7 separate regions of the Homo sapiens genome follow, and all the other regions are linked to region 5. Evidence: promoter capture Hi-C in human tissues and cell types (Jung and others, 2019). All regions are on one chromosome and are shown on one strand. The core of a region is centred on a gene start or on the middle of the fragment in contact, and the rest is flanking DNA. Distances in the headings are between cores, read along the strand shown. Region 1 overlaps WSB1 (WD repeat and SOCS box containing 1). Region 2 holds the start of LINC03146 (long intergenic non-protein coding RNA 3146). Region 3 has its middle 27 kb from the start of LINC03146. Region 4 has its middle 43 kb from the start of MIR4522. Region 5 holds the start of LGALS9 (galectin 9). Region 6 has its middle 23 kb from the start of MIR4522. Region 7 has its middle 96 kb from the start of MIR4522.

Evidence for each region. Contacts are between HindIII fragments. The study calls those that stand out against the background at their distance.
Region 1: a fragment that was not itself captured here is called in contact with the fragment with the promoter of LGALS9 in region 5 in 5 of the 25 tissues and cell types used here (H1 embryonic stem cells, lymphoblastoid cells, mesenchymal stem cells and 2 more).
Region 2: a fragment that was not itself captured here is called in contact with the fragment with the promoter of LGALS9 in region 5 in 4 of the 25 tissues and cell types used here (dorsolateral prefrontal cortex, lymphoblastoid cells, spleen and 1 more).
Region 3: a contact is called between a fragment that was not itself captured here and the fragment with the promoter of LGALS9 in region 5, in 3 of the 25 tissues and cell types used here (lymphoblastoid cells, mesendoderm cells and spleen).
Region 4: a contact is called between a fragment that was not itself captured here and the fragment with the promoter of LGALS9 in region 5, in 4 of the 25 tissues and cell types used here (bladder, lymphoblastoid cells, mesenchymal stem cells and 1 more).
Region 6: a contact is called between a fragment that was not itself captured here and the fragment with the promoter of LGALS9 in region 5, in 3 of the 25 tissues and cell types used here (hippocampus, lymphoblastoid cells and mesendoderm cells).
Region 7: a contact is called between a fragment that was not itself captured here and the fragment with the promoter of LGALS9 in region 5, in 4 of the 25 tissues and cell types used here (aorta, lymphoblastoid cells, small bowel and 1 more).

What each region holds. Positions count from the first base shown.
Region 1 is chr17:27,314,066-27,317,563 of GRCh38, reverse strand. WSB1 (WD repeat and SOCS box containing 1) reads right to left here. Exons shown (of 9, transcript NM_015626.10): 9 at 1,638-3,498. Among named protein-coding and RNA genes, the nearest start is that of LINC03146, 17 kb to the left of the region's middle. The HindIII fragment of the contact is 8,167 bases long and covers 1-3,498 here.
Region 2 is chr17:27,332,062-27,335,448 of GRCh38, reverse strand. It overlaps LINC03146 (long intergenic non-protein coding RNA 3146), which reads right to left and starts at 2,954. Exons shown (of 3, transcript XR_007065677.1): 1 at 2,022-2,954; 2 at 1,072-1,189. RefSeq lists an enhancer at 2,354-2,903. The HindIII fragment of the contact is 3,899 bases long and covers 1-3,387 here.
Region 3 is chr17:27,357,795-27,361,338 of GRCh38, reverse strand. No RefSeq gene overlaps it. Among named protein-coding and RNA genes, the nearest start is that of LINC03146, 27 kb to the right of the region's middle. The HindIII fragment of the contact is 7,286 bases long and covers 1-3,544 here.
Region 4 is chr17:27,248,720-27,252,408 of GRCh38, reverse strand. No RefSeq gene overlaps it. Among named protein-coding and RNA genes, the nearest start is that of MIR4522, 43 kb to the left of the region's middle. The HindIII fragment of the contact is 3,454 bases long and covers 367-3,689 here.
Region 5 is chr17:27,629,430-27,632,760 of GRCh38, reverse strand. LGALS9 (galectin 9) reads right to left here and starts at 1,573. Exons shown (of 11, transcript NM_009587.3): 1 at 1,457-1,573. The coding sequence starts at 1,495. RefSeq lists enhancers at 1,544-1,663, 1,131-1,948. The HindIII fragment of the contact is 14,549 bases long and covers 1-3,331 here.
Region 6 is chr17:27,269,003-27,272,684 of GRCh38, reverse strand. No RefSeq gene overlaps it. Among named protein-coding and RNA genes, the nearest start is that of MIR4522, 23 kb to the left of the region's middle. The HindIII fragment of the contact is 6,167 bases long and covers 1-3,682 here.
Region 7 is chr17:27,196,033-27,199,615 of GRCh38, reverse strand. No RefSeq gene overlaps it. Among named protein-coding and RNA genes, the nearest start is that of MIR4522, 96 kb to the left of the region's middle. The HindIII fragment of the contact is 6,719 bases long and covers 1-3,583 here.

The sequences.
Region 1 (3,498 bases), core at 649-3,148, 320 kb after region 5:
TGGGCAACAGAGCGAGTCTCCGTGTCAAAAAATATATATATATACATATATATATATATTTCTGTTTAATATCAGCCTCATTCTTGGCTTTTTTTTTTTGAGATGGAGTTTCACTCTTGTTGCCCAGGCTGGAGTACAATGGTGCAATCTTGGCTCACCGCAACCTCCGCCTCCCGGGTTCAGGCGATTGTCCTGCCTCAGCCTCCTGAGTAGCTGGGATTACAGACGCATGCCACCATGCTGGGTTAATTTTTTGTATTTTTAGTAGAAACGGGGTTTCACCATGTTAGCCGGCTGGTCTCGAACTCCTGACCTCAGGTGATCTGCCTGCCTTGGCCTCCCAAAGTGCTGGGATTACAGGCGAGGGCCACTGCACCTGGCCTCTTGGATCTATTTTAATCATTATCTTTCTCAGGTATCTCTCTAATGCCCATCATCCTTAATCTATTTTTTATAAGAACATTTCATTATTATTCAACAATTCGGAAGCATAAAACGACCCAGTGGAGTAGCCATTTCATTTCTCTTACTTACTGATCTATACTCGAGCAAGTTTGTCCAACGTGTAGCCCACGGGCCACATGTGGCCCAGGATGGCTTTGAACGTGGCCCAACACAAATTCGTAAACCTTCTTAATAACATTATGAGATTGTTTTTGTAATTCTTTTTTAAGCTCATCAGTTAGTGTATTTTATGTGTGGCCCAAGACAATTCTTCCAATGTAGCCCAAGGAAGCCAAAAGATTGGACACCCCTGTTCTAGATGATTTCTATAGCTCACACTTTACTTTTGGAGAACAATTTTTTCAGAAAGAGCCATTGATGCTTCAGCCTTATTTAAAACCAAACAAACACAAACTCACTATAATGACGGTGACAGGCAACACTGTATTATAGGTTTTCCTAACAAAACCTGTAATACTACTTTCAGACCAGAAGACCAACTGTTATGTGGAACTATAAAGAAAATTCCTTAATCAGTATCTTTAAAACAGAAACCAGAAGGATAATGACAGTAGTCTCTAATAGAGAAAATAGTGCTGGAGTTGATAAAAATTGAATTAAATCATTTTTTCCTTCTCCAATTCCAGCCCTATTCAATCATTTTCTGATTCCTCAACTGTTAAGATAAGCCTAGACTGGTCAGGCACTGTGGCTCATGCCCGTAATCCCAGCACTTTGGGAGGCCAAGATGGGCAGATCACTTGAGGCCAGGAGTTCAAGACGAGCCTGGCCAACATGATGAAACCCTATCTCTACTAAAAATACAAAAATTGGCCCAGCTCACGCCTGTAATCCCAGCTACTCAGGTGGCTTATGCACGAGAACCACTTGAACCAGGGGAGGCAGAGTATGCAGTGAGCTGAGATTGCACCACTGCACTCCAGCTTGGGTGACAGAGCGAGATCCTACCTCAAAGTAAAAAATAAAAGCATACATAATGTCAAAAAACAACCACACAAAGCTACCCCACCCACCTGTAATAAAACAGGTCACTTTATACCTGGCTCAGACCAGATTTTTGCTGGTGGCTAAAGAATGCTTTATGGATCAAAGGGCAGGTTGAGATTGCCTACTTACGTTCATTCCTTCCAAGCATCTTACCATAAACATCTGCCAAGGTTATGACGAGCATGTCACTAGGTTGCATTTTATTAGTTGCTGCCAACAGCTCTTACTTCTGATGGAAAAGAATTTAACAACAACAAAAAAACCCAGTATACTCCAACTTATGCTTTTTCTATGCTTTTATCACCAAATGATAGTACATCCATATATAACTCTAGATATTTGTTTTATAGTCCACACACTTGCTAGTTAAAATGTATTATCATAAGCCACAGTCTGTTCAGAATTACTTGGGTAAAATGCTATGTCACCTACAAACCCTCATCTGATTAATATGGAGGTTGTAATCACTGTCTCAATGGTTTCAGGCTCGTGAAACTTCTCATGCTATTTTCTTACGCCTGTGCTGGCTGGCTGACGGCCAAGTCCTCTGCCTCTGCCACTGCCTCAACCCATAAGCATGCTACAGTGCAGTCCAACCTTTTTTGGTCTTGCCGACCCAAGAGCAGTGTAAACCAGTTGAATCCAACTGCATCACAGTCACAGCAGGCAGGAAATTTCAAGGATCGTTAAGTTTAAGATTTGCCAACCTAAGATCAAGTTATAGGTTTTAAAGTGATTTCATTATCGCAAAAGGATAGCTTGGCTGCTGAGTGTGATTTTCCTATGTTCACATGTACTCCATGGGATTCTAAAACAGAAAATTAAATCTGAACATAAATGATCTGCCAGTTCTCCAAATGACAGGCTTGTGGCAAAATAGGAGAGGCAGTGTCATTTTCAAATCATGTAGCTAGAATCTGATCCAAGTCCATAATCAACGTCTTCCCTATTTTCCTTTGGTCCTTCAGTCTGTTATTACTGTTATTACCTTCTTCCCCACAGACAAATGGAAAATTCAAACATGTTTCTACTTGACATATACGCTGCAATCTTCCTTTCACACTGGCACTCACTATGGTTTTCACGAGAAGAGGTGGCAAACAGGTGAACATCTCACAGAATGTAGCTTCCAAAAATGCTGTTTTGGGCCAGGTTCGGTGGCTCACACCTATAATCCCAGCACTCTGGGAGGCCGAGGCGGGCGGATCACGAGGTCAGGAGTTTGAGACCAGTCTGGCCAACAGTGAAACGCCGTCTGTCCTAAAAATACAACAAAAATTAGCTGGGCGTGGTGGGGGAGCGCCTGTAATCCCAGCTGCTTGGGAGGCTGAGGCAGGAGAATTGCTTGAACCCAGGAGGTGGAGGCTGCAGTGAGCCAAGATCGCACCACTGCACTCCAGCCCAGGTGACAGTGTGAGACTCCGTCTCAAAAAAAATAAAAAATAAAAAATAAAAAAAGCTGTTTTTACTTGACTGGATATGTTGGTGTGGAAAGCAAAAATAATGCAATGATATGAAAAGTAATGGTATCTTATTTATTTAGAGTCTTACTCTGTCACCCAGGCTGGAGTGCAGTTGCGTGATCTCAGCTCACTGCAACCTCCATTTCTCCAGTTCAAGCAATTCTCTTGCCTCAGCCTCCTAAGTAGCTAGGAGTACAGGAACCCACCACCATGCCCAGCTAATTTTTGTAATTTTAGTAGAGACAGGGGTTTCACTATGTTGGTCAGGCTTGTCATGAACTCCCGGCCTTAAGTGACCCACCTGCCTTGGCCTCCCAAAGTGCTGGGATTATAGGTGTGGGCCACTGCGCCCGGCCAGTGTATTTTAAAATTATAAAGCCGATATATTACAAAGTAAAATGCAGGGGAAAAAAAGTCACAAGAAGTATAAAGATTAGATGCTTCTTGTGCTTCTTTTTGTAAAATACAGATGATCCTCAAGAAGTAACTTGAGCAGATTTTCTACTGGCTTTCAAATTGATAACCCTACACCCCCTATAAATTTTTACATTCCTTAACAGAGCTAACCATAGGAACTTCCAAA
Region 2 (3,387 bases), core at 298-2,797, 300 kb after region 5:
TAATTTGGCCAGAACTGGCATCTTTCCATTCACGAGTATCACATGCCTTTCCATGTATGTAAACTTTATTTAAAACCTCTTAGTTAAGTTTTTGTTGTTTATAGGACATGCACATTTTGTGTCAAGCTTATATCTAGGTATTTTATAAATGACCATGAAAAAATTCACTCTCAAGCATTAAAGAAATGCAAATTATGAGAGAACAATGAGATCCTATTTTTCCTTTCAAACTAGGACATAGTTTTACAAATAATACTCAACCTCAGAACGGTGTAGTGAAAAGGGCATTCTCATATGCTTCTGGGAGGATATGCATTAGTCTATTTATGTCCATTCTGGAGGAAGGTTTGACATTTTGTATAATAAGAATTGAAAATGTTGGCCAGACATGTATACATATGTAACTAACCTGCACATTGTGCACATGTACCCTAAAACTTAAAGTATAATAATAATAAAATAAAAAAAAGAAAATTAAAAAAAAGAAAAGAAAAGAAAATGTTGGCCAGGTGTGGTGGCTCATGCCTGTAATCCCAGCACTTTAGGAAGCTGAGGCAAGACGACTGCTTGAGCCCAGGAGTTCAAAGCCAGCCTGGGCAACAAAGCCAGACCCTGTCTCTATTAAAAATAAATAATAATAAATTTTTAAAAAGAATTTAAAATGTTTATGTCCTTTTAAATGAAATCTTTCCTATCCAGTTTTCCTGTGCAGCTGCTTCATTCAAGCCTGCTTTTAGTTGGAGCCTAAAACAATGTGAATAAATGTCCTAAATCCATAATTAGCGGCCTAATATGATTTTTTTAAGAAGTCCATATCCTTTGGCTTAATGTATAAGGTCAGGGTCCTGGCCAGAAATAGGCCCGAGCATTTAGTTTATAATCAAAGTGATATTTCAAACCAGTGAGGAAATATTCTACTAAAAGAGAAAGGCTGGGCTGGGCATGGTGACCCACGTCTGTAATCCCAGCACTTTGGGAGGGCGAGGCGGGTGGATCATTTGATGTCAGGAATTCAAGACCAACCTGGTCAACATGGCGAAAACCCATCTCTACTAAAAATGCAAAACTTACCCGGGCATGGTGGCACGCGCCTGTAATCCCAGCTACTGGGAAGGCTGAGCCAGGAGACTCGCTTGAACCTGAGAAGCCGAGGTTGCAGTGAGCAGAGATTGTGCCACTGCACTCCAGCCTGGGAGACAAAAGCAAGACTGTCTCAAAACAAACAAACAAACAAACAAGAGAGAAAGCCTGAATAATGACATATGAAAAGTTGACTATTCAGAAAAAAATAAGTTTAGATCTTTATCTTCCAGTTTATATCAAAATTAGTCCCAGGTGGGTTTAAAAGCCAAATGAAGGAGTAAGAGGAAATGGAGGAAGGGAAGGGGGGAAGAGGAGCAGAAAAGAAAAAATATAGATCTGAAATGTCTGTGTGATACTCAGATGGGAGCAGTTTTACAATTAAAAAAAAACAAAAGGGAGAAAGAATAAAGGAAAACATCAAGGCCGGGAGTAGTGGCTCAAGCCTGTAATCCCAGCACTTTGGGAGGCCCAAGGCAGGCAGGTTGCTTGAGCCCAGGAGTTCAAGACCAGCCTGGGCAACATAGCGAGACCTCCTCTCTACAAAAGATACAAAAATTAGCCGGGCGTAGTGGTGTGCACCTGTGGTTCCAGCTACTAGGGAGGCTAAGGTGGGAGGATGGCTTGAGCCGGGAGGCGGAGACTGCAGGGAGCCAAGATCACGCCACTGTACTCCAGCCTGGGTGACAGAGTGAGGCGCTGACTCAAAAATAAAAAACTAAAGAAAGAAAAAGAAAAACATCAAAAGGTCATCCCACATCAAAATGTCGTGTGGTGTATCAAATATCACCAAAAACAAAATCAGAAGGTAAAATTCTAAGCTTAGAAAAATATTTGCAACACATTCGACAGAACTGACATTTTTAAAGTGCTTCTGTACGTCAACAAGAGAAAAAATAGAAAATAGAAAAGCAGACCAAGGATATGAATAGGCAACTCACAAAAGGAGAAAGTCAGATGTTCACAACTATTTTTAAAATGCAGCAGACACGTGGTCTTGGAGACGCAACAAGCAGGGCCGCGGACCAGGCGTTAGGTAGGAAAGGCATTCACCCCTTCTCCAGCTGCGGGGCGGGGCCCCGGGTCCCTCTCTGGAGGGGCCTCCAGGGAGCGGAGCTCTGGGATGCCGTTTCCCCGGGGCGTCTGGGAGGGGCTGGAGAAACAAGCATTTCCTAGGGCTGAGCCCACTTGCCCTCTAGGGGGTGACGATTTCTCTCCCAGTCTTCCCCCCGACTTGGCTGGACTCCGAGGGGAGGGCGCTGGCGCTTCCAATGGCACAGCAGCTCGTGGGGAGCTCGGGCGCTGCCTCTCGGGCGGCTTCCCCAGCCCTCCTGACTCGCGGCCACCGGAGGGCGGTGCTGTCCAGGAGACGCCGGAGCTGGGCGCTCACAAAGGCCCCTTTCTCCTCCACCGAAGATGAGTCATAGCCCAGGCGGGGTCGGAAGGGCAGCCGCTCCAAGGCGACTGCAGAGCCGCGACTGCAGAGCCACGCCTCCGAGTCACCCTGGACGCCTGCGCCGGCCGCGTCTGCTTCTCCTTGGCTTGGCAGGCCACAGGGAAAACTGGGTCAGGCCGGTGGCCTAGTTCGCTGGTTCACAGCGTGAACGCCGGCAGTAGGTGACTAGGAAGGGCATCTCCACTTACTGTCTGGCTCATTCACGTGACAAATATCTGAAGAGCCCCGTGACTGACAGCCAGTTGCTAGTGCACTCCCAAGGCCCGGGTCACCTGAGTTTAGAATGTGTCATCTCAATACCCTGGGGGCTGGGCCTGCCTGGGCAGGTCGCCAAATCACTGGTCTTGTCACATCTCAGGTTCAGTTGCCCACATTGCAAAACATCCCCTGGCCCCCTGGCATTGGATTCCCTTGTGATCTAACCCTGCCCCACCCCTCTGACTGGCTCCCACCAGGTGGCCTTCACTTTGGTCCCCACCCCTGCCTGGCAATCCCCCTCCCCACATCCTGCTCCTGTGAGCCCAGGCCTGTCCTATGGCGGCCTGCAGTGACCTTCCACACCCACCCGAGCCCATTCAGTCTCCTCTCTGCTTCTGACTCTGCCCTAGGATGTCTGAGGATGTCATTTGTTTTTCCCTCCAAAATTCTTTTTGCTAATAAGAAGGACACTTTTGACACCCGGTCCAAAGGTGTAAGCTCCTGGGCCTCAGTGGAGCCAGAAGCAGCCTGTATAGGCCTGGTCTGCTCAGCTGGACAGGAGGAGATCTGGTAGGGATGGACCACTCCAGAGGAGAGGAGGTCAGCCATGGGCCTGAGCAGCATGAAGACCTCATGTGCCAGGAGGGAGGTCA
Region 3 (3,544 bases), core at 872-3,371, 270 kb after region 5:
TATGACTAAGGAACGTTGCGTTGGCCCACCCAACTGTTGGACTTTATAGTGGGCTGCGGGCGGGAGAACTGCTGGGGCGCTGGCTGGGTTTCTTTTTCTTCTTTTCAGAGATGGGGTCTTGCTCTGTCACCCAGGCTGGAGTGCAGTGGCACAATCACAGCTCACTGCAGCCTCCAACTCCTGGGCCCAAGTGATCCTCCTGCCAAGTAGCTGGGACTACAGGCATGCACCACTAGGCCCAGCTAATTTTTCAAATATTTTGTAGAGACAGCCTCACTGTGTTGCCCAGGCTGGTCTCAAACTCCTGGGCTCAAATGCTCCTCCTGCCTTGGCCAAAGTGCTGGGATTACAGGTGTGAGCCACCAGGCCTGGCAGGCTGGGTTTCTATGGAAAGTGCTGAAAGGTAGATGAGGTTATTTGAATGGTGGAAGTTGGGAGTGAGGGGAAGGCAGCAGCCGCCACACATGCAAGGACAGGGACACACACACACACACACACACCCCCACACCCACACCCACACACACGTACTTAGGGAAACAGGCTTTCAAACGTTTTGCTACATCAGTGTAATTTCCTGCATTCATTTCGTAGGGCTGCCATTGCTACAAACTTCGTGGCTTGAAACAAAAGACATTTATTCTCCCACAGGTCTGGAGGCTACAAGCCTGAAACCCAAGTGTCAGCAGGGCCACAGTCCTCCTCCAGCTTCTGGTGGCTTTGATCAGATCACATTACTAGATTAGTGCAAAAGTAATTGCGGTTTTGCTGTTAAAGGTAATGGCAAACTTTTAATGGCAAAACCGCAGTTACTTTCGCACTAACATATAAGTTCCAAGTGTTCTTTCTCTATTCTAAATACAAGTCCTTTATCAGATTTATGATGTGCAAATATTTTCTCCCATTCTGTGGGTTGTCTTTTCACTCTTTTCACAGTGTCCCTTGAAGCATGAAAGTTTTAAATTTTGATGAAGTCCAATTTATCAAATGTTTCTTGGGTTGCTTATGCTTTGGATGTCATAGCTAAAAAATGACTTCCAAACCTAATCTAGTGAATATTTTCCCCTCTATTTTCTTCTAAGAGTTTAATAGTTTTAGCACGTATATTTAGCTTTATGTCTACCCAACGTTTTGAGTATAATAAGATGGGGGCCCACAAAGTGGCTAAATGAGTAAGATGAGATTGTGGGAAGGGCCTGCGCAGGCTTTGGAGACAGCTCCCGACACCCTCATCCTCTTCCCCATCCTTATCCCCGGGGTCCATATCCTGCAGGAGCTGCCACCTGAGGCTGGAATGCCTCTCATGGAAGGGCGTTCTTGAGAGCAGCTGAGAGGCCTGTCTCAGGTCTGCAGGGTTGAAGACAAACCCTAGAGCAAGACTGCAAGGCACAGGGCATGGTGGTTTATGCCTGTAATCCCAGCTACTCAGGAGGCCAAGGCTAGAGGATCGCTTGAGCCAGGGAGTTTGAGACCAGCCTGGGCAACATAGCAAGACCTCATCTCTAAAAAAATAAAAATAAAAAAAATTTGCCAGAAGTGGTGGTGCCTGCCTGTGGTCCCAGCTACTCAGAAGGCTCAGGCAAGAGGATCACTTGAGCCTAGGAGGTCAGGGCTGAAGTGAGCTATGATCATGCCACTGCACTCCAACCTGGGCAACAGAGTGAGGCCCCACCTCTAAAAACAAAAACAAAAAGAACTATAGGACAAGAGTCAAGAACCAGAGAAGTTGGTTTTGCAGAATGTACCAGAAACAGAGCTGGAGCAGACTGCCAGGGGGAAGGAGCATGTGGTCAAAAATGGAACAATCCGCCCACCAGAATAGCTGGCCAAAAACATACAACACAAAAAATAAAGTGAACAAATGAAAAACAGGTACGGCCAAGTATTGGTGAGCACGACAAGCAACCGGAACTCTCATACATGGCCCGTGGAAGCGAAAATTGTTCCAGTCACTTTGGAAAATGGCAAGTTTCTGCTAAGTTGAGCATATACCTTGCCTCTGACCCAGCAGTCCACATCTAGGTACATACCCAGCATGAATACACACATATGTTTCCCAAGACAGGTACAAGAATGGTCACAGAAGCAATATGCTTAATAGCCAACAAATGGAAATCACTTAAACATCCATCAGCAACAGAATGAATAAAGAAATTGTGGCTTACTTATACCATGGAATATATTATAGAGCAATGAGAATGAATGAACCACAACATGAATAAATCTCACGTACACAGCATTAACCAGAAGAAGTTAGAGCCAAAAGAATATATATTGTAATGTTATATTTATATAAAATACAGCCAGGCACGGTGGCTCACACCTGTAATCCCAGCACTTTGGGAGGCCAAGTCGGGTGGACTGCTTGAGCCCAAGAGTTCAAGATCAGCCTAGGAAACAATTAGACTCCGTCTCTGCAAAAAGACAAAAAAATCAGCCAGGCGTGGTGGCACATGCCTGTAGTCTGAGCTGGGAGGATCACTTGAGCCCAGGAGGTGGAGGCCGCAGTGAGCTGTGATTACATCACTGCACTCCAGCCTGGGTGATAGAGCAAGACCTTATCTCACAAAATAAAATAAAATAAAGTAGGCCGGGCACGGTGGCTCACGCCTGTAATCCCAGCACTTTGGGAGGCCGAGGCAGGTGGATCACTTGAGGCCAGGAGTTCGAGACCAGACTGGCCACCATGGTGAAACCCTGTCTCTACTAAAAATACAAAAATCAGCCAGGCATGATGGCGTGTGCCTGTTAGTCCTAGCCACTCTGGAGGCTGAGGCAGGAGAATCACTTAAACCTGGGAGGCAGAGGTTGAGGCAGAGGTTGCAGTGAGCCAAGATAGCGCCACTACACTCCAGCCTGGGCAATGGAGCAAGACTCTGTCTCAAAATAAAATAAAATAATAAAAAAACATAATATAAAATTAAATTAAATTAATACAATAAAATAAAATACAAAGCAGGAAAATTAATGCTGCTAGGGTTAGAAGAAGGGTCAGCCTTAGGGAGCATAGTGCCTGAAGGCAGCACAGGGCAGGAGCTGTTTGCATTCTCTTTCTTAATTTGGGTGCGCTTACGTGGATCTGCTCACGTTGAAAATTCATCAAACTGTCAACTTCTGATTTTGATTATTTTGGGCATGTATATTGAATCATAAAATTTACAACAACAAAAAACAGAACAAGCAGAAACTGGGTGTGATGCTATGGTCAGAGGTGGAATGGCGATGAGTCTCTGTAGGGCTGGCCCCAGCCCAGCGTTCCTCTTCTGTGGGGGTTGACAAACTCCCAGCCTTGGGGGTGGCATTTAAAGCAACAGGTCTCTTTCAAGCGAATGTGCGGAAGGTGAGGAGCAAATTAATTAATAAGTCCCTTCCTTTTTTCCCTCTGTCCACCGTTCCTCCTTTTATTTATTTATTCTTTGGGTTTTTGTCTTTTTGCTTTTGTTTTTTGAGATTGGGTCTCACTCTGGTGCCCAAGCTGGAGTACAATGGTGTGATGTCTGCTCACTGAAGCCTCAGCCTCCCGGGCTCAAACTGATCCTCTCACCTC
Region 4 (3,689 bases), core at 844-3,343, 380 kb after region 5:
TCCTGGATTCATTGATTTTTTAAAGGGTTTTTTGTGTCTCTAGCTCCTTCAGTTCTGCTCCGATCTGTTATTTCTTGCCTTCTGCTAGCTTTTGAATTTGTTTGCTCTTGTTTCTCTAGTTCTTTTAATTGTGATGTTAGGGTGTCAGTTTTAGATCTTTTCTGCTTTCTCTTGTGGGCATTTAGTGGTATAAATTTCCCTCTACACGCTGCTTTAAATGTGTCCCAGAGACTCTAGTATGTTATGTCTTTGTTCTCATTGGTTTAAAAAAACATCTTTATTTCTGCCTTCATTTCATTATGTACCCAGTAGTCATTCAGGAGCAGGTTGTTCAGTTTCCATGTAGTTGTGCAGTTTTGAGTGGGTTTCTTATTCCTGAGTTCTAATTTGATTGCACTGTGGTCTGAGAGACAGTTTGCTGTGATTTCTGTTATTTTACATTTGCTGAGGAGTGCTTTTCTTCCAACTATGTGGTCAATTTTGGAATAAGTGCGATGTGGTGCTGAGAAGAATGTATATTCTGTTGATTTGTGGTGGAGAGTTCTGTAGATGTCTATTAGGTCAGCTTGGTGCACAGCTGAGTTCAAGTCCTGGATATCCTTGTTAACCTTCTGTCTTGTTGGTCTGTCTAATATTGAGAGTGGGGTGTTAAACTCTCCCATTATTATTGTGTGGGAGTCTAAGTCTCTTTGTAGGTCTCTAAGGACTTGCTTTATGAAACTGGGTGCTCCTGTATTGGGTGCACATATATTTAGAATAGTTAGCTCTTCTTGTTGAATTGATCCCTTTACCATTATGTAATGGCCTTCTTTATCTTTTTTGATCTTTGTTGGTTTAAAGTCTGTTTTATCAGAGACTAGGATTGCAATCCCTGCTTTTTTTTGCTTTCCATTTGCTTGGTAGATCTTCCTCCATCCCTTTATTTTGAGCCTATGTGTGTCTCTGCATGTGAGATAGGTTTGCTGAATACAGCACACTGATGGGTCTTGACTCTTTATCTAATTTGCCAGTCTGTGTCTTTTAATTGGGGCATTTAGCCCATTTACATTTAAGGTTAATATTGTTATGTGTGAATTTGATCCTTTCATTATGATGTTAGCTGGTTATTTTGCCCATTAGTTGATGCTGTTTCTTCATAGTGTCGATGGTCTTTAGAATTTGGCATGGTTTTGCAGTGGCTGGTACCGGTTGTTCCTTTCCATGTTTAGAGCTTCCTTCAGGAGCTCTTGTAAGGCAGGCTTGGTGGTAACAAAATCTCTCAGCATTTGCTTGTCTGTAAAGTATTTTATTTCTCCTTCACTTATGAAGCTTAGTTTGGCTGGATATCAAATTCTGGGTTGAAAATTCCTTTCTTTAAGAATGTTGAATGTTGGCCCCCACTCTCTTCTGGCTTATAGAGTTTCTGACGAAGAGATCAGCTGTTAGTCTGATGGGCTTCCCTTTCTGGATAACCTGACCTTTCTCTGTGGCTGCCCTTAACATTTTTTCCTTCATTTCAACCTTGGTGAATCTGACAATTATGTGTCTTGGGGTTGCTCTTCTTGAGGAGTATCTTTGTGGTGTTGTCTGTATTTCCTAAATTTGAATGTTGGCCTGCCTTGCTAGGTTGGGGAAGTTCTCCTGGATAATACCCTGAAGAGTGTTTTCCAGCTTGGTTCCATTCTCCCTGTCACTTTCAGGTACAGCAGCCAAATGTAGATTTGGTCTTTCCTGTAGTCCCATATTTCTCGGAGGCTTTGTTCGTTTCTTTTTACTCTTTTTTCTCTAAACTTCTCTTCTTGCTTCATTTCATTAATTTGATCTTCAATCACTGATACACTTTCTTCCACTTGATCGAATCGGCTACTGAATCTTGTGCATGTGTCACGTAGTTCTCCTGCCATGGTTTTCAGCTCCATCAGGTCATTTAAGGTCTTCTTTACTCTGTTTATTCTAGTTAGCCACTCATCTAATCTTTTTTCAAGGTTTTTAGCTTCCTTGCGATGGGTTCAAACATCCTCCTTTAGCTCGGAGAAGTTTGTTATTATTGACCTTCTGAAGCCTACTTCTGTCAACTCGTCAAAGTCATTCTCCATCCAGCTTTGTTCCATTGCTGGTGAGGAGCTGCCATCCTTTGGAGGAGAAGAGGCACTCTGGTTTTTAGAATTTTCAGCTCTGATTTCTCCCCATTTGTGGTTTTATCTACCTTTGGTCTTTGATAATGGTGACCTACAGATGGGGTTTTGGTGTGGATGTCCTTTTTGTTGATGTTGATGCCATTCCTTTCTGTTTGTTAGTTTTGCTTCTAACAGTCAGGTACAGCTGCTGGTCTGTTGGAGTTTGCTGGAGGTCCACTCCAGACCCTGTTTTCCTGGGTATCACCAGTGGAGGCTGCAGAGCAGCAAATATTGCAGAACAGCACATATTGCTGCCTGATCCTTCCTCTGGAAGCTTCATCCCAGAGGGGCACCCACCTATTTGAGATGTCAGTCAGCCCCTACTGGGAGGTATCTCCCAGTTAGGCTACATAGGGGTTCGGGATCCACTTGAGGAGGCAGTCTTTCTGTTCTCAGAGGTCAAACACTGTGCTGGGAGAACCACTGTTCTCTTCAGTGCTGTGAGACAGGGATGTTCAAGTCTGCAGAAGTTTCTGCTGCCTTTTGTTCAGCTATCCCCTGCCCCAGAGGTGAAGTCTACAGAGGCAGGCAGGCCTCATTGAGCTGTGGTGGGCTGCACCCAGTTCGAGCTTACCAGCTGCTTTTTTTTACCTACTCAAGCCTCAGCAATGGCAGACGCCCTTCCCCTAGCCAGGCTGCCGCCTGTAGCTCAATCTCGGACTGCTGTGCTAGCAGTGAGCAAGTCTCCATGGGCGTGGGACCTGCTGAGCCAGGTGTGAGATATAATCTCCTGGTGTGCCATTTGCTAAGACCATTGGAAAAGTGCAGTATTTGGGTGGCAGTATCCCGATTTTCCAGCTGCAATCTGTCACGGCTTCCCTTGGCTAGGAAAGGGAATCCCCCCAACCCCTTGCACTTCCCTGTTGAGCTGATGTCCTGCCCTGCTTCGGCTGGCCCTCCATGGGCTGCACCCACTGTCCAACCAGTCCCAATGAGATGAACCAGGTACCTCAGTTGGAAATGCAAAAATCACCCGTCTTCTGTGTCGATTGTGCTGGGAGCTGCAGACCAGAGCTGTTCCTATTCGGCCATCTTGGAACCGTGAGATTCTCTAAAGTGCTAATTTTTGCATTTTTAATAGAGACGGGGTTTCACCATGTTGGTCAGGCTGGTCTCAAACTCCTGACCTCGTGATCCGCCTGCCTTGGCCTCCCAAAGTGTTGGAATTACAGCAGTGAGCCACTGTGCCCAGCCATAATTTTTGTACTTTTAGTACAGACAGGGTTTCACCATGTTGGCCAGGCTGGTCTCAAACTCGTGACCTCAAGTAGTCTGCCTACCTTGGCCTCCCATAGTGCTGGGTTTACAGGCGTGAGCCACCCTGCCTTGCCTGTGTGTGTTCTTTGGATTCAAACACACTGCTGCTCTAGAGTATATGAGTATGACTGAGAAAACATTTATTTCAAAAAGATTAAAATAAGACACCACACTAGAATATAAAAAGAACTGTTACAATCAATAATAAAAAAGACAAATATCCAATTATAAATGGGCAAAGGACCAAAGGACCAAAATAGACATTTCTCCAAAGAA
Region 5 (3,331 bases), core at 324-2,823:
ACTCCAAGGCCCTGTTTTAACTCTCTGATGTCCGTAGGATAATTTTCCTTCTGAATCCAAGGATTAGAAAGTAAAAACCAGTCACCAGAATAATAATATGTCAGAACCTGGAAGAAGCTCTGGGATCCCCTCTTTGACAGAAAACCAGAGACAGGGTGACATGCCCAAGGCAGCACCTGCTGACCCTAAGGCCCCCACCAGCGGCCTGTTCCAGCTTCCCCCAGCCCCCTCTGTGCAGGTCCTACCTCAGGGGCCTCCACAGGGTGGCTGAGGTGTCATTGGTGACAGCCAGGAGGAAACAGGCCTCCTTTCCCCATTCTTTCTCTCTGGAGTTTAGAAAGCAGAGCCGAGCTCTGCAGACCAGAACGTAGGCAGCCTCATTCTGGACTCAGTGTCACCAGGGGGCACTCAAGCCCGACCCTGGCCTCTGCTGAGGTGGGCCATGGCAGCTTCCCTCCCTCAGTACCCTGCCTCTGCCCACCCTCCCCACCCTGCCTCCCCACCCAGGAAGGACCCATCAGCCCACCCTCTCCAGCCCCTCGGGAAGCTCTTTGCCAAGGCGGGGTGAGATCCTATGACAGGAGCCGGCCCAGGACACAGTGACCCCTGAAGTCTCCTGGGCTCCTGGGGCTGCCACTCCCATCTGGAGGCATTTGGCAACTGGCCTCTGCCTCCCTGAGCCTCAGATTTTCCGTGTATGAAGGGGACTCATAAACCTCACAGGGTTTCAGCAAGGCACCTGCCGCCCTCTGACCCCACGCTGCAGGGACAGTCCTCACCCCCCTCTCACCTCTGAGACTGCCCCTCCACAGATGCCCTGAACATGCCCATGCCCAACCTTCAGAGCACAGACACCTCCTCGGGAGGTCTTCCCTGCTGCCCTCAGACACCCAATAACATGAAACACTCCCAAAGCACCTACAGTGTGTCAGGCACTGTTCAAACACACTAGATACACTACTTCCTTAATCCATATCCCAACCCTGGGAGTGGGGGGCTCAAGTATTATTCCCACTTCACAGATATGGAAACTGAGGCCCAGAGACCACCAGCCAGTAAATAGCTGGACCCAGGGAGGCCACCTTCACAGTAAGCACCCTTAACTACCATGCCGGGTAGCGTCCTTACTGTCCCAGAAGCGTGCTTGCTTCCTCTTTACATGAACCACCCCGCTCTACATGTCTTCCCCTGAGCACACAGGACAGGACAGGACAGGACAGCTCAGTCAACACTGTCAAAGCCATGACTCGTGGGAAGGAGCATCCCTCCAGGCATGAGTGAGCTCAGCACGGCACAGGTGTGCCAGGATGACCTCCTCTGATATTTCTGCCCTGCTTGTGTTCTCTTTGGGATGCCCCCACCCCCATCCCCTGCCACCCAGGAGTTGCTTCCTCAGAGCCCCAGAGCTGTGTCCCTCTGGCTGAGGCAGCCCTGTGCCCATAGCCCTGGAACTCACTGGACTCAGGTAGGGAGCCTGGGAACCGCTGAAGGCCATCTCTCCGCCGCCTCTGTGGCCACCGCTGCCTTTCACACCCACTAGGAAGTCCTTTGTAGAGGGAACGACTTAACAAAGAAATAGAAACCAAAGCAACTTGGCTGTTATTCAATGGGGAGGAGCCGGCAGCAAAAGGAAGTGGGTCCAGAGAGAGAAAGGTATGGTACTGGGTGGACTGGGGTGACACTCACAGAGGGAAGTAGGCACTCCCAGCCCCAGTGACCTTTCCCTCCTCCCTCTCCTGTGCTCAACCCAAGCCTGAAGCATATTTGGTTCATAGAGGTCTACAATGCTTGACCACACTGACATGACAGCAAGTTGCCAGATGACACTGCCCAGAAGTATGTGGCTGTGTGTCCTAAGCATGCTTGGCCACGGAGTCCAGAAAATAATGGGGCTGGGCATTGCCTGTGCACAGGGTGCTTGTGGGGAAGGGCGGCTTCAACCCATTTTACATACAGAGAAGCTGAGGCTCAGAGTCTAAGGGGCATGCCCCAGGTCACACAGCTAATTCGTGGCCGCCTGAACTTTATGAAGATTCTCAGACTCTTCAAAAAGTATTTCTCCTGTTTAAATTTATATTATTCATGTAAAAACATAATTATGTAGAGGGGAATATTTTGCAAGAAAAACACCATAATGAATATTTTTATTCTACAGTATGGGGTGCCCAGGAGCTTCTGATCCTCCCTCTCAATGAATCTCTCTTGATTCTCTTCTCCTTCTCTTCTCCATCCTTATTTTCTGCACTTTAGGATGAGGAGAGAAGTCTTGGACATGATAGAACATTTCAAGTGACATGGGGCTGGGAAGGAACATATGGCATGTGCAGGTCGTGGGGGAGGGAGCCATGAAATAAACTTACCTGAAGTCGACCAGGTCCCAGCGATGTGCTGGTGAGAAGGCCCAGAACTCAAGCTGGGTAGGGTAAGTGCTGGCAGGTAAGGGCTGTACGGGTGCGAGAGGATGGCAGGTGCCCCAGGGCCATACGTGAGTCTGCACCTCTCTTCCTTCCTGTGCTCCACCTAGATGCACTAGAATTTGCAGACTAATTCCTTTGAGATGCTCCAATAGACTGAGGCCATGTGTGCCATCTGCACTGTCCATCCCCATTATGTTCCTGGATCAAGTACCAGTTTAAGGAGTAGACAGTACAAGGGGAGCAGAAAGGAGAGAAAGGAAGGGAAATTCTTTGCGATCCTCTCGGACACCAGGGACAATTTCATCACGGCACATCATTTGTAGGCAATCACAAATTGATTGCGATACGCAACAACTGGAACTCTCATTCACAGCAGACTGGAGTGTAAAATAATCCAACTTAGAAAAATGGGCAGGGCGTGGTGGCTTATGCCTATAATACCAGCACTTTGAGAGGCTGAGGCAGGAGGATCACTTCAGCCCAGGAGCTTGAGACCAGCTCGGGAAAGGTTGGAAGACCCTGTCCCTACATATAATTTAACAAACAAATTAGCCAGGTGTGGTGGTGCACACCTGTGGTCTCAGCTACATGGGAGGCTGAGGTGGGAGGCTCACTTGACCCCAGGAGGTCAAGGCTGTAGTGAACCCTCATCACGCCACTGCACTCCAGCCTGGGTAATAGAGCAAGACTCTGTCTCAAAAAATTGAAAAATAAAAAATAAAAAGAAAAACTGCTTGGTGAGTTGTAATACAGTCAAATATCTACTTCTATGTTCTGGCTTTTCTACTTCTAAAAAATTACCCAAGAGAAAGGAAAACATATGTGCCTGTTTTTAACAGCTTTACTCATCATTGCCCCAGGCTGGAAACAGTGCAAATGTTCACCAAAGGAGAAGGGAGAAATGAATTGTGGTT
Region 6 (3,682 bases), core at 213-2,712, 360 kb after region 5:
AGGCAGGAGGATTGCTTGAACTAGGGAGGTGGAAGTTGCAGTGAGCCAAGATTGCGCCATTGGACTCCAGCCTGTGTGACAGAGTGAGACCCTGTCTCAAAAAAAAAAAAAAAAAGTTTTTAAAAATTATTTTCAGGATTCAAGTCCGCATCCTCTTGCCTTTGGCAAGAGGGCAATGGAAGAGTCATCTAACATTCCTGGGACCCCATGTGCACCTTTTGGGAAAAATTATTTGTATGAGAAAAAAAGAATAATAGTGGTATTTAATCTCCGGAAACTACATAGAAATCCATCATCAGGGACATTTGCCCAAATTAAGAAAACTGCTGGATGAATCAAGGTTTCTGAAATTGTATTCCTCGTACCATAAAGTAATAAAATAGGCCGGGTGTGGGGGCTCAACCCTGTAATCCCAGCACTTTGGGAGGCCCATGCCTGTAATCCCAGCTCTTTGGGAGGCCAAGGCTGGTGGATCACCTGAGGTCAGGAGTTCAAGACCAGCCTGGCTAACATGGCGAAACTCCATCTTTACTAAAAATACAAAAATTAGCCAGGCATGGTGGCACTTGCCTGTAATCCCAGCTACTTGGGAGGCTGAGGTAAAAGAATCACTTGTACCTGGGAGGTGGCAATTGTAATGAACCAAGATTGCACCACTACACTCCAGCCTGGGTGACAGAGTAAGACTCTGTCTCAAAATAAAATAAAATATAGCAGAGCAAGACTTTTAATGCACAACCCCTTCATTTTAAATGAACATCTTATTTAAAATAAAACAAACACAAACCAAAGACCTTCAAATGAATGATCTCTCTAGTAGTTTGCGTGTATTTTCTTACTTTTTGGCATTTAAATAAATTTCTTTTGCTTTATTTTTAAGTACGTAGGCTTAAGTTTGTCTCTCATCACCACAGTGGAATCTGAGAATTGCTATTTGTAATGTTTAACAAGTAAGAACAATGCATGCTGTTCTGTAGAGGGTAGGGTAGGTGAAGCTGGATACCTATAAAATTTTGAGTATTAAGAAAAGTGCTCTGGGCCAGATGCAGTGGCTTACCCCTGTAATCCCAGCATTTGGGAGACCAAGGTGGGTGGATCACCTGAGGTCAGGAGTTCGAGACCAGCCTGGCCAACATGACAAAACCCCATCTCTACTAAAAATACAAAAATTAGCTGGGCGTGGTGGCACATGCCTGTAATTCCAGCTATTCGGGAGGCTGAGGTAGGAGAATCGCTTGAACCTGGGAGGCGGAGGTTGCAATGAGCTGAGATCTTGCCACTGCACTCCAGACTGAGCAACACAGTGAGATTCTGCCTCAAAAAAAAAAAAAATGTTCTGGACTCACCCCCAGAGACCCTCCAGTTACTATGCCTAGGGTGCAGCTCAGCAATCTGTGTTTTTACAACCACGTCAAGTGATTCTGCTATCCCACGTTTTGAGAAGTACAATAAACACAGTCCTTTCTACTTGGTTGCTGGCTTAAAGATGATGTGGACAACTGGGATAAGGTTTCAGGCCACAAATAGAATGGTTAGAATTTGAGAGGACTCAAGAGAGCCTTAACCATAACTGAGGAAAGTGAAGAATTTGTCAGAAGTGATACGTTTCACAAGCTTTGCTCTTAAATAACTGCGTTAGAACTGTAACTGCCACATCGTAGCTTTGAAATGTAATTGGGAACATTTCTCATCATTTAAAAAAAACTTCTTGAATCTTAAAAATTAAAGAAGTTTTCCCAACCTGGTTTTAAAAGCTGCATATTTGAAATTAAAAATATTTATTTATTTATTGTGTTAGTCCATTTTCACGCTGCTGATAAACATATACCCAAGACTGGGAAGAAAAAGAGGTTTAATTGGACTTACAGTTCCATATGGCTGGGGAGGGCTCAGAATTATGGTGGGAGGTGAAAGGCACTTCTTACAGGGTGGCAGCAAGAGAAAATAAGGAAGAAGCAAAAGTGGAAGCCCCTGATAAACCCATCAGATCTCACGAGACTTAATCACTATTACGAGAATAGCTTGGGAAAGACCGCCCCCATGATTTAATTACCTCCCCCTGGGTCCCTCCCACAACATGTGAGAATTCTGGGAGATACAATTCAAGTTGAGATTTGGGTGGGGACACAGCCAAACCATATTATTTATTTATTTATTTACTGGAGATGGAGTCTCACTCTGTCACCCAGGCTGGAGTCCAGTGGTATGATTGCAGCTCACTGCAACCTCTGCCTCCCGGGTTCAGGTGATTCTCCTCCCTCAGCCTCCTGAGTAGCTGAGATTACAGGCTCATGCCACCAAGCCTGGCTAATTTTCGTATTTTTAGTAGAGACAGTTTCACCATGTTGGTCAGGCTGGTTTTGAACTCCTGGCCTCAGGTGATGTGCCCACCTCGGCCTTCCAAAGTGCTGGGATTACAGTCGTGAGCCACCACACCCGGCGTCCTCCAGGAGTTTTCAAACAGAAACTTAGGAGGGAGAATCAGCACGTCACTGTTGGTGGCCTCCTTGGATGTGAGGCTCAGGTGCTGCCAGGAAGCAGGGCTGTTGTCTCAGAGCACAAAGTCAACATGCAGAAGGAGCAAGACTGAGGGCAAAATGCTTATAGAAATATTTCTCTACAGAGTCGAGTGGCTGTGAAATAGGAAGCAGTTACTCCAATCACCAAAAGTTTAAACACACAAAGTCAAACTGTGCATGAGCTTTCCTTTCCCAGTGCTAGAGAAAATTCCAGGGACAGGGCTTGATCTGAGAGGTTTATCAGGATTTCCAGAAAGAGGTGTAAATGGAGGGTGGAGTCTCCATAACAGAGGAGCAAATTCAAGCATGCATGCAATCAATCCAAGTGGCAAGTGGGAGATCAGCGATGCTGGGAAGTTTGCTTGTTTGTGTTTTCAATGAATGTTTATTGAGCACCTATTATGTCCCTGAAACTGTTCTAGGTGTTGGCAATGCAGCAGCTATGGAGGCAGATGAGGTCTCTGCAGTCATGAAGCTTTCATTGTACTGGAGGGAGACAGGGAATGAACAAACAAACAAGAAACAGACTCATGGGAATTCTAGATGGAGATGTATTCTGTGAAAAAAAATAAAACACAATGATATGCTAGAAAGTGGCTTCAGCAGAGAGCATGCCCTCTAGACTGATAGATCAGGAAAGGCTTAGCAATAGAAGGTAGCATTTCAGGTGAGACAAGGTGGAGCCCAGGCAGCCAGCCCAGCTTCTCCAAAGTCTCTGAGGCAGAAGGAGCTCAGGGTGTTTGAGAAAGAGGAAGTCATATGGATGGAGCGAAAAAAGCAAGGAGAGCAGTAGCAGGTAGCAGGTAATGTCAGAGAGGAAGGCAGGGGCTAGATCACACAAGGCAGTACAGACTAGGATAAGAGATTTGACTTGTGCTAAGGATGGCAGGAAGACATTGGGAGATATCTCTATCTCTATCTCTATATAGTGAAAGCAAGTTTATTAAGAAAGTAAAGGAATAAAGAATGACTATCCATAGGCAGAGCAGCCAACAATGGGATATTAAGAGGAGGTTTCCATTGTTCAAAGTTCCTTCCAGCTACCAAGCTGAGAATGGAGAGGATGACAAGAATGGCAGCAGGGAGACCAGGTTGTTAAGAGACTGTCATTGTAAATCCTGTTGGAGACTAGCAGACAAGTAAAGATTGGGATATGCATGATG
Region 7 (3,583 bases), core at 918-3,417, 430 kb after region 5:
TCTTCTAACACAAGTATAAACAGAAAGCTTGGTTTTATGTATACCTTGAGTCGTCCACTTAGAACACATCCTGTATGTAATCCCAGCACTTTGGGAGGCTGAGGCAGTGGATCACTTGAGGCTAGGAGTTTGAGACCAGCCTGGCCAACATGGTGAAACCCCATCTCTACTAAAAATACAAAAATTAGCCAGGCATGGTGGCACGTGCATGTGATCCCAGATACTTGGGAGGCTGAGGCATGAGAATTGCTTGATCACAGGTGGTGGAGATTGCAGTGAGCCAAGATCATGCCACTGCACTGCAGCCTGGGCAAAAGAGCAAGACTCCATCTCAAAAAAAAAAAAAAAGAAGCAGTTCCTATAGTCACACATTTGTTTCTCATTGTTCCTATCTCTGCTGAGGGCCATGGCTTCTGCACAGTGGTCTGCTAACTCCAACTCTAGGCCTGAGTTCATCCACTTGGTAGAAAGAGTCTAGTTGCCTCTTCATAGGCCTCACTGGGAAGTGGGAGAAGGAGCTGGTCTCTTTCCCCTTCACCACACCACCCCAGGTTGTACAGATGGAACAACTCACTTTACTGGGCATGTTGGAACCATTGGAAAGGGAACCGAAATTCAGTAGAGGAAAGGTGAAAGTTCTTGATGAATCTGATTCTCCCAGTGTTACAAGGGAAAGTAGCACAAGATTAGGCCTTCACTGGGTTGGGGTAGAGGATTCTCCTAAGGTCTGGCCCTGAACGCCCCGCTTTCTCTGTAATGCCCCACTTTCTCTATCTTCTACTATAAGACTTTTGGGAAAACCTCTTTGAGTCACTGGAAATCACTGGGAAGACTCTGTTCCAGCTCTCTCCTCTCTCCAGACATGTCCTCACTCAAATGGGGGAACTCAGCAGGAGTATCAGCCCTGCTATGACAAGCAAGTCCTGAAGACCCATCAGAGGTAGCAGGAGCTGGGGAGAGGCTCAGACTCACCAGGATCTGAGGCTGAGGATGGATATGGGCCATCTGGGTCAGATTATCTTTGTGCTATTCCCTTTAGCAAACATGGCTGTGTTTGCACACACATCCTAAGGCATTTTCACAAATATCTAGTTTCTAGATTTTATTGCGGGATATTTGGTTTTTCACTATAGGCATCAATGGGCTATGAAACGTCCCATTGTAGATTCTATAAAAAAGTCTTACTGTGGGGACCAGCCCCACAGGGTCGGTAGGTCTCTCCCTGTGTGCAGCGATGAGAGAGTGTAGAAATAAAGACACAAGACAAAGAGACAAGAGAAAAGGCAGCTGGGCCCGGGGGACCACTACCACCAATGTGCGGAGACCAGTAGTGGCCCCGAATGTCTGGCTGCACTGTTATTTATTGGATACAAGGCAGAAGGGGCAGGGTAAAGAATGTGAGTCACCTCCAATGATAGGTAAGGTCACGTGGGTCACGTGTCCACTGGACAGGGGGCCCTTCCCTGCCTGGCAGCTGAGGCAGAGAGGGAGAGGAGACAAAAGGAAAGACAGCTTACGCCATTATTTTGCATATCAGGGACTATTAGTATTTTCACTAATTTACTACTGCTATCTGGAAGGCAGAGCCAGGTGTACAGGATGGAACATGAAGGCAGACTAGGAGTGTGACCACTGAAGCACAGCATCACAGGGAGATGGTTAGGCCTCCGGATAACTGCGGGCGAGCCTGACTGATGTCAGGCCCTCCACAAGAGGTGGAGGAGCAGAGTCTTCTCTAAACTCCCCTGGGGAAAGGGAGACCCCCCCCCCCCCACCCTTTCCCGGTCTGCTAAGTAGCGGGTGTTGTTCCTTGATGCCTTTTGCTACCGCTGGACCATGATCCGCCTGGTAATGGGCGTCTTCCCAGATGCTGGTGTCACCGCTAGACCAAGGAGCCCTCTGGTGGCCTTGTCCGGGCATAACAGAAGGCTCGCACTCTTGTCTTCTGGTCACACCTCACTATGTCCCCTCAGCTCCTATCTCTGTATGGCCTGGTTTTTCCTAGGCTATGTTATAGAGTGAGGATTATCATAATATTGGAATAAAAAGTAATTACTACAAACCAATGATTAATGATATTCATATATAATCATATCTAAGATCTATATCTGGTATAACTATTCTTGTTTTATATTTTATTATGCTGGAACAGCTTGTGTCCTCTGTCTCTTGCCTCGGTGCCTGGGTGGCTTGCTGCCCACATTACCAACCTGCTGAATCAAAACAACGGTTTGACTCTGTGAAATGAATGAACACATGGCAAAGCATTTTCACTGATAGCTTGTTTCTAGTTTTTATCTTGGGATATAGGTTTTTTCACTATAGGCCTCAATGGGCTCCAAAAAGTCCCTTTGTAGATTCTAAAAATAGAGTGCTTCCAACCTGCCTTTCGTAGATTTTACTAAAAGAGTGTTTTCAACCTTCTTAATTAAAATAAAGGTTTAAATCTGTGAGATGAATCCACACTTAGCAAAGCATTTTCACAGATAGATTGTTTCTAGTTTTTATCACGGGATATGTGGTTATTCACTATAGGCCTAAATAGGCTCTGAAGTGTCCCTTCTTAGATTCTACAAGAAGAGCGTTTCCTATCTGCTGAATCAAAACAAAGGTTTAACTCTGTGAGATGAATCCACACATCACAAAGTATGTGCACAGATAGTTGTTTCTAGTTTTTATAGTGGGATGTTGGGTTTTTTACTGTAGGCCTCAATGGGCTCTAAAATGTCCCCTCATAGATTCTACAAAAAGAGTGTTTCCAACCTACTGAACCAAATAAAGGTTTAACCCTGTAAAATAAATCCAAACATTGCAAAGCATTTTCATGGATAGCTTGTTTCTAGTTTTAATCACAGGATATTTGGTCTTTCACTATAGGCCTCAATGGTCTCCAAAATATCCCTTTGTAGATTTTACAAAAAGGATGTTTCCAGCCTGCTGAATCAATACCAAGGTTTAACTCTGTGAGATGAATCCTCACATCAGAAAGCATTTTCACCAATAGCTAGTTTCTACTTTTTATCGTGAGATATTCAGTTTTTCAGTATAGACCTCAATGGCTTAGAAATATTGCTTCATAGATTCTATGAAAGAGTGTTTTTTAACCTGCTGAATCAAAACAAAGGTTTAACTCTGTAAAATGAATAAACACATCACAAAGCATTTTCACTGATAGCTTGTTTCTAGTTTTTATTGTGGGATATTCGGTTTTCCACTGTAGGCCTCAATGGGCTCTAAAATGTCTCTTTGAAGATTCTACCAAAAGAGTATTTCCAACAAGCTGAAACCAAACAAAGGTTTAATTCTGAGATGAATCCAAACATCACAAAACATTTTCACATATAACTTGTTTCTAGTTTTTATCATGGGATATTTGGTTTTCCACCATAGGCCTCAATGGGCTCCGAAATGTCCCTTCGCAGATTCTACAAAAGAGTGTTTCCAATCTGCTGAATTAAAACAAAGATTTAACTCTGTCAAATGAATCCTCACATCACCAGGCAGTTCACGGATAGCTTCTTTCTAGTTTTAATTGTGGGATACTCAGTTTTTCACTATAGGCCTCAATGGGCTCCAAAATGTA